Linked DNA regions of Homo sapiens: region 1 is linked to region 2. The links are contacts of gene promoters, found by promoter capture Hi-C in human tissues and cell types (Jung and others, 2019). All regions are on one chromosome and are shown on one strand. Each heading gives the region's core, a stretch centred on a gene start or on the middle of the fragment in contact. The rest is flanking DNA. Distances are from core to core; before and after follow the strand shown. Region 1 has its middle 47 kb from the start of MC3R. Region 2 holds the start of MC3R (melanocortin 3 receptor).

Region 1 (3,784 bases), core at 1,040-3,539, 46 kb before region 2:
ACTTGTTCAGAGGGGTGCGTGCCCTGGAAAGGGACCGTAGTGGATTGGGGATAGGGTCTGTTGGTTTGTGGATGGTATCTAATTTGGGATTAGGACTCACTGGCCAGTTTTTTTTTTTTTCCAAGAAGGTTCCAGGAAGACTGATTTCTGCCCTTTGAGAATTTTGATACTTGACATTTTCCAGGTTGATATTTGAGTTCCAGTTCTATTTTCTATTTTCTTATCTATGGTACAATCCAAAGACTGTTGAACCGAAGCCATCTTGTTTATTCCACAAATGTTTACTGCATACCTCTGTTATGCCAGGCCCTCTCCTAGGCCCTGGGGAAGCATGACCAAGACATGGCTTCCAACCTAGGGAAACACTTTTCAACGGCGGGGAGGGGTGTGCACACCAATGGTGAGTAGGTTGTGGTTAGTAGGATGATGGGTTTTTGGCATCTGGTGTTTGAGCTTTTGCTTTTTTGATTTCCTGCCATCTATGCCTCCTTTTCAGGTTATAAGCTGCTACTTTCCTTTGGGGCCCCATATACTCCAACTTGCAGATCGTGTAGCTTGGATGTGGCTGGCCCTCCAGTTTAGATCAAAGGGTTGGCATATGACTTAGGTGTGGCCAGTCAAAACATTTTGCCTCCTGGTGCAGTAATTGTTCCAGGATGAGAACACGATTTAAGCCAATGAGTGTCAGTATTGGACCTACTACTAGGACCATCACAAAAGACAGGCATCATCCTCTGGGGTGGGTAAGCTGGAAAGATGGAAGCCTGAAACTGCTGGCAGTACCCTTGCTTTGGCAGGGGAGAGGTGCCTGAGAGTGACACCAGCCCGAGGCTCCTGCTGAAATCATCTGTGTTCTTATTTCCAGCTGTGCCTGAAGTCATGTCTACCCTTTGGACTTTCTCTTCAATTTAAGTCATTTTGAGTAGTGTTTCTGCCTCTTGGAATCTAAAGGATCCACATGAATGTAATGAAGTTATGTGCCAGGTGCTATGAGGCGATGAGAAGGAAGAAGAGTATGTACCACTGTCTTCCTGGAGGAAGTGACACAGGACCTGAGTCTTGAAAGCCCAGTAGGACTTAGCCAGCTCAAGGGATTCTGAGCAGAGTGAGCCACATAAGAAATTACGTAGGAGCATGACAGTTTGTGCCGTGTTTTGGAGATCAATGCAGTTCATTGTTATTGGAGTGAGGTTGGCAGTAGTGGAACATTAGGTGGATGAATAAATGTCACTATCTCCGTCCCCAAGCTGATGTGTGTTAAGTACTTTCTATTTATCCTTCAGGAATTGCTGTGCACTTTACCTGGATTTATCTCATGTAAGCCTTCCACAGCCTCTTGAGGTGCACACTATAGTTATCTCATTTTACTGATGAGGAAACAAGCTTGGGGAGGGGCTAAAATAATGTGTCCAAAGTCACTTAGCTAGGAGGTGGTAGATGCAGAGCTTATAAGGGCCTAGGGGAGACCTCAGAGGCTCTTTGCTAAATTTTGATTTTATGTTCAAAAGATTTTTCATCCATCCTCCCATTTCTGTTCTAAGATTGGACCATCCTCACCTTTTGTTCATGTTAGTGTCCATTCATCCCAAAACGATGCGAGCACAGTTAGTCCCAAACTTTGACTTGACAGCAAACCCATATATAGAATTTCAGAGGGAATGTCTGGAGTTTCTGTTTGGGTTGTTTGCCTTGCTTGGGATGAGATAAATCAAAGCAGGTGGCAGTGCCTGCATTCTGAATGTCCTGCGCTGACACAGGTAGGTTATTGCTGCTACCTGAGAGCAGTTGTGCTTGCCCACATGAGTGACGGCAGATCTGTGATACACCTCTTGGGTTCTGGGAAATAAGTGTGATCTCTTCCTGGCCGATCCTCGTGCCTCCACCCCGCATTTTGGTCTGAGGCCTTGATGGATTCAGTTTTGTTTCCAGTTCAGGAGCCTACGCATTTCCCCAGGATGCAGGGAAAATGTGTCATCTTCCCTCCCTTCTGGTAGCGGACCCTGTGTGTGAAGCTCTGCCCCCCCTGGAGGGTGGTATCATCAAAAGCTTAATGGTTAAAACACTTCATACTCAATAATCAATAATTAAACACATCAGAGGGAAAGTAGGCTTACAGATTAATGGGTAGTAGCTTAGAGAGGGTGGATGTATTAGTCTGTTCTCATGCTGCTGATAAAGACATACCCAAGACTGGGTAATTTATAAACTGGTAATTAATTGGCTCAGTTCCATATGGCTGGGAAAGTCTCACAATCATGGCGGAAGAGCAAGGGACATCTTACATGGCAGCAAACAAGAGAGAATTTGTGCAGGGGAACTGGCCTTTATAAAACCATCAGATCTTGTAAAACTTATTCACTATCATGTGAACGGCACAGGAAAGACCCTCCCCCATGATTCAACTATCTCCCACTGGGTCCCTCCCATGACATATGGGAATTATGGAAGCTACAATTCAAGATGAGATTTGGGTGGGGACACAGCCAAACAGTATCAGTGGGTTTTGTGAAGGAATTTTAGGCCATATTTGGCTTATTGTGCAAGAAAAGGGGAATAGGTTCACTTGTTTTAGGGTTCATTGGTTTTTTTTCCAGGAAGGGATTTTTATTACTTTTTTTTGAGGCTCTGTGACCTCAGAACAAGGCGAATAGGTTGCAAGTTAATACTTGAAAAATCAGAGTTAAAACTAAAAGGAAAAATGATCCTACTTGAGCCTTGTAAAAATTCTGTAACTTAGATACAGTAGGTGCGTGGCCTTGTCTCTGTTTTACAGAAGCAGAAAACTGTGACCCCAAGAAGCTTAGCAAGTGCTCATGGTGCACATGTAATAACCAGCAGATGTGAGATTTCAACTCAGATCATATATGGGTTCCAAGAGGGTGGATCAAGAGGCATTAGAGTCAGGGCTCAATTTGATTCCATATTTTGGAGAAAGCGGACACGGCAAAGCATATGACTCTTTGCTTCAAGTCTAGTTGAAGAGACAATGCTGCTGGAAGGAAATTCAACAAATACGTCAGCCAAATAATTCCTGAATCCAGAGCATGTCCCAAGGAGGGGACTGGTGACTAAGTGAATGGCACAGTTTTTTACTTGCAAATCACCCCAAGCTTATTTAGAAAAGCTATGCTTAGTCAGGGGGCTATAACAAAATACCTAGACTGGGTGGCTTAGAAACAACAGAAATTTACTTCTCCCTGTTCTGGAGTCTGGGAGTCTGAGATCAGGGAGTCAGCATGGTCAGGTTCTGATGAGGACCCTCTTCCAGGTTGCAGACCCCAGTCTTCTCATTGGAAGGAGGGCTAGAGAGCTCTCTGGAGTCTCTTTTATAAGGATACTAATCTCATTCATGGGGGCTTCACTCTCACAACCTAATTGTCTCCCCAAAGACTTACCTCCTAATACCATCACATTGGGGATTAGGATTTCAACATATGGATTTTGGGGAACACAAACATTTAGTTCATAACACATGAATTCCCTCTACCTTTTTTTTTTTTTTAATTTTGAGACAAGGTCTGGGCTCTGTCACCCAGGCTGGAGTACAGTGGTGCTATCTTGGCTCACTGCTACCTCTGCCTCCCAGGCTCAGGTCATCCTCCCACCTCAGCCTCTCGAGCATCTGGGAATGTAGGTGTGTGCCACCACACCCAGCTAGTTTTTATATTTTTTGTAAAGATGAGGTTTCACCATATTATCCAGGTTGGTCTTGAACTTCTGAGTTCGAGTGATTTTCCCGCCTCAGCCTCTGAAGTACTGGGATTATAGGCATGAGCCACCAAAC
Region 2 (3,775 bases), core at 647-3,146:
TATTTTAAAAAGATTAATCTATACCTTAAAATAGCAAGGTATCAAAATACACGTACACAAGTATATTCTGATTGTCCAAAGCACTTTCTCTCTTTCGTTAGAGTTTTGAAGGTTGTCTTAGATTTAATCCATAAAAACAAAACAACAACACACACCAACACAACAACAGAAAAATAGAAGTGGGTTACATCCTCATGCTACCTTTGGGGGTGGGGACAACTGAAGGGATATGGGGGTAAGAAAAGGGGAAAACGGCATAGCATTGCTCCTTTCACAAAGAGACAATTGTCTAACTGTAAATAGAATAATAGAGTAGAACTCAGTCTCCTACGGAGTTATAAGTGCAAAGCTATCTCTCCGTGTAGCTGGCAGCAGGAGGTCGTAGCTGTAACAGGTTTGCTTGCAAGAGATCTGAACCACCCTTATTGTTCATGAGAATCCTTCAGTCTGGTCTGGCCTGGAGCATGAAGACGTGGGTGTGGAGCAGATGAGCAGACAGGCGTCGCACACCCTGGGTGTTTGGAAATGAGTGCAGAGAGCATGCAGAGAAGCCTTCGCTGATTTCTCCCAGTGACTATTTGGGAAATCAGAGTTTGTGACTTACCCATCTTGGAATCCTTTCAGAGAATCTGTTGTTCACCAATTTTCCCCTTTAAAAGGCTTTGTAAACTTAAAAACAAACGACAAGTACAATCATGGCTGTTAACACATTTTTATATTTTCTAAGTATATATATTTTTCTTTCTAAACACCTCACGTGGATGGAAAGTCAAAAGTGACCCGACTGATGATCATTTCCATGGCCCTGCATCCTATCCCAAGTTCATGCCGTTGCAGCCACAGAGAATCTCCCTAAAGGTGTTGCGCAATTCCAGGCTCCGGAAAGCGTAGATGAGTGGGTCGATGACGGAGTTGCACATGATGAGGACCAGGTAGGTGTTGAAGTGGGCAGTGTAGCAGATGCAGTAGGGGTTGGTGGGGCAGGTGATGATGAGGACCAGGTGGAGGAAGAAGGGGGCCCAGCAGAAGATGAACACGCCCAGGAGAATGGTGATGGTGACTGCCCCCTTCATGCATGAGTGTTGCTGTGGGGCCACCCCGTCGGCAGGTGGCAGTGCTGCTATGCGCTTGACGTGCAGCCGCGCAAAGAGGAACATGTGCACGTAGAGGGTGCCCATGAGGAGCATCATGGCGAAGAACATGGTGATGAGGCACACAATGACCATTTTGCTCTCCGAGTAGACGATGAACACCACGCCACAGACGCCGCAGCAGACCCAGATGGCCACGATCAAGGTGAGGGCCTTCCTCACGGTCATGATGCTGTGGTAGCGGAGCGCGTAAAAGATGGTGACGTACCTGTCGACGGCGATGGCCAGGAGGTTGCAGATGGAGGCCACCAGGGAGATGCAGATCATGGAGTCGAAGATGTTGTCCATGTGCTGGATAAACTGGTCCTCGAAGGTCAGGTAGTCGCTGTGGACGATGGCGATCATGATGGTCTCCAGGGCATTGGACACACTTACCAGCATGTCGGCCACCGCCAGGCTGCAGAGAAAGAAGTACATCGGGGAGTGCAGGTTGCCGTTCCTGACCACGGCCAGGATAACCAGGATGTTTTCCAGCAGACTGACGATGCCCAGAGACAGGAAAACCTCGGGCTTGATGAAGACCTGCTCACAGAAGGCGCTGCTGCTCTGGTTGCTGAAGAAAGGGGCTTGGAGGTGCTCCGAGCCATTAGGCAGTGTTGGCTGAACAGAGGGCAGGCAGCACGAAGCATTCATTGCTGTCAGAAGGGCTGATCCGAGCTGGGGCTCCAGCAGGGTCCGTAGGAAGCTGCTGCTGCTCACAGGAAAGACAAAATCTCCCTCCAGATACGTCTTTTGGATGCTCATTCAATCTGGCCTTAGAGTTTATTCTCCTCTAGAATAAAAGGATGGGGAGGGTAGAGAGACAGATAGTGAGAGAGGGTGGAGGAAGAGACAGAGAGAGAGAGAGACATACACACAGAGAGAAAGAGCGAAGGGGGAAGAGAGAGAGAGAGGGAGAGTAGCTAGTTAGTAGCTAGCATGCAAGTTTGTAGCTTGGAGACATAGGGAGAACTTTGCTGTTCCAGGAGGAGCAGTTTTTATCTTGTTTACATAGAAAAAATACACCATAGGGTCTCTTACCAGCTGTCTTCCTTCTGTCTCCCTCTCACCCCTCTGTTTGTCTCTCCTCACTTCCCCACCTGGGAACAGAAAACCTGCCACCGGCTGCTACAGTTACAGCTCTTTTCATGGCAAGACAGGGGATGTGTTACTTGTCGCTAGAAGTGAAGGGAGAACACTCAGGTTTTTCATATTGGCCAAGGGCAAACAACTCCTACTTAATCTTCAGCGCAGCAGAATGACCACTGAGCATCGGGCACCTCTCTGACTGACAGCAGGTACCTGGCCCTGAGGATTCTGCAGGGAGATTAAGAAGCAGACTAGTGCCCTCTGCAGGCCGCACGGCTGTCTGCTTGCTGGCTTGGCTTAGCCCTTTGTGTTTGTCATGGAAACTGCCACAGGCATCCACTCATCTGTTCATTTGTTTGTTTATTTGTTAGTTCATTCATTTGTTGTTGTTGTTTAGCAAACATTTATTGAGCGCCTACTATGTGTCAGGTCTCTGCTGAGTGCAGGAAATACAGTGGTGAGCAAGACAACAGCCACTATCTCAGGCTTCCCCGAACTCAGAGTCTGGGGTGGAAGAAGAGGAATCAATAAATGCTTGAATCAGGAAAGTCCAGGAAACCAGGGATGCAAAGAGGAAGAGCCCTAACCCGGACTGTCAAAGTTCCTGGAGGAAGGAGCACCTATGCTTTGACTTCAAGGAGGAAGAGGTCATATCCAGTTTGGGGTGGGTGGTGGGGTGGGGGCTGGAGCTGGAGGAGGTAGAAGAGGACTCCAGGCAGAGGGAATCACACGTCTGCAGCCTGGAGGCAGAGAGCACCCTGGCCATAGAAGTCATCACAGATTGTGGATGTGGAGATCCCATTTGACCCGCGGAGTCAGAATCACCCAGGTGTAAGACCTGAACAAGTGTGTTTGCAATTTTTGACAGGTGAGCTGGGGCATAGTCACAGTTGAGCTCCACTGAAAAAGAATCTTGGGCTTTTGAAAGTGCTGAAAGTAGTCTGCTCTGGTCAGAGCATGGAAATAGGAGACACAATCTGAGAAATGAGGCTGCACAGTTTCTTAAAAAGTTGAGAGGTGCCTGAATCCTGAAGGACAGCCTCAGCCAGATGTGAGAATTTGGACAGTACCTTGACAGCAATGGGGACTGTGGAAGAAACATAGGTAGGGCAGGAATGAGATGGGGTCTGCATTTTAGAAATATTCCTGGTTGCAGGGTGGAGAATGAATTAGACAGACTGAGCATGTAGGCCAGGGAGTCCGGGGCAGAGGGTGTTGCAAAGACCCAGGGTGAGATGATGGTGGCCTGGAGCAAGGGAGTGGCCATGGGGACTTGGAAGACTTGGAGGGTGGTCAGAGAGATTCAGAAGGTTGGATAATGCAGCTTCAGAACTGATGGGTTATGGGATCATGGGAGAGGGAGCAGTCAGAAACACCTGTACTTCTTTCTTACATAATGGGGAGGATGGAGATGTTTTAAGCTGGAAAATGTGAAAGGCAGAAGTTAGCAGGTGGCCTACTAATGTAGTGTTGTTCTTGGAAGTATGGTTTAACACTTGGTCCATGTTAGATCTGATTCCCCATGTAGATCATATGAACTCAGAAAACACTGAGTC

What was found. Contacts are between HindIII fragments. The study calls those that stand out against the background at their distance.
Region 1: a contact is called between a fragment that was not itself captured here and the fragment with the promoter of MC3R in region 2, in 4 of the 25 tissues and cell types used here (aorta, mesenchymal stem cells, small bowel and 1 more).

Annotation. Positions count from the first base shown.
Region 1 is chr20:56,293,429-56,297,212 of GRCh38, reverse strand. No RefSeq gene overlaps it. Among named protein-coding and RNA genes, the nearest start is that of MC3R, 47 kb to the right of the region's middle. The HindIII fragment of the contact is 4,431 bases long and covers 74-3,784 here.
Region 2 is chr20:56,246,853-56,250,627 of GRCh38, reverse strand. It overlaps MC3R (melanocortin 3 receptor), which reads right to left and starts at 1,896. Exons shown (of 1, transcript NM_019888.3): 1 at 813-1,896. The coding sequence starts at 1,784. The coding sequence ends at 813. RefSeq lists a silencer at 2,426-2,495. The HindIII fragment of the contact is 18,891 bases long and covers 1-3,775 here.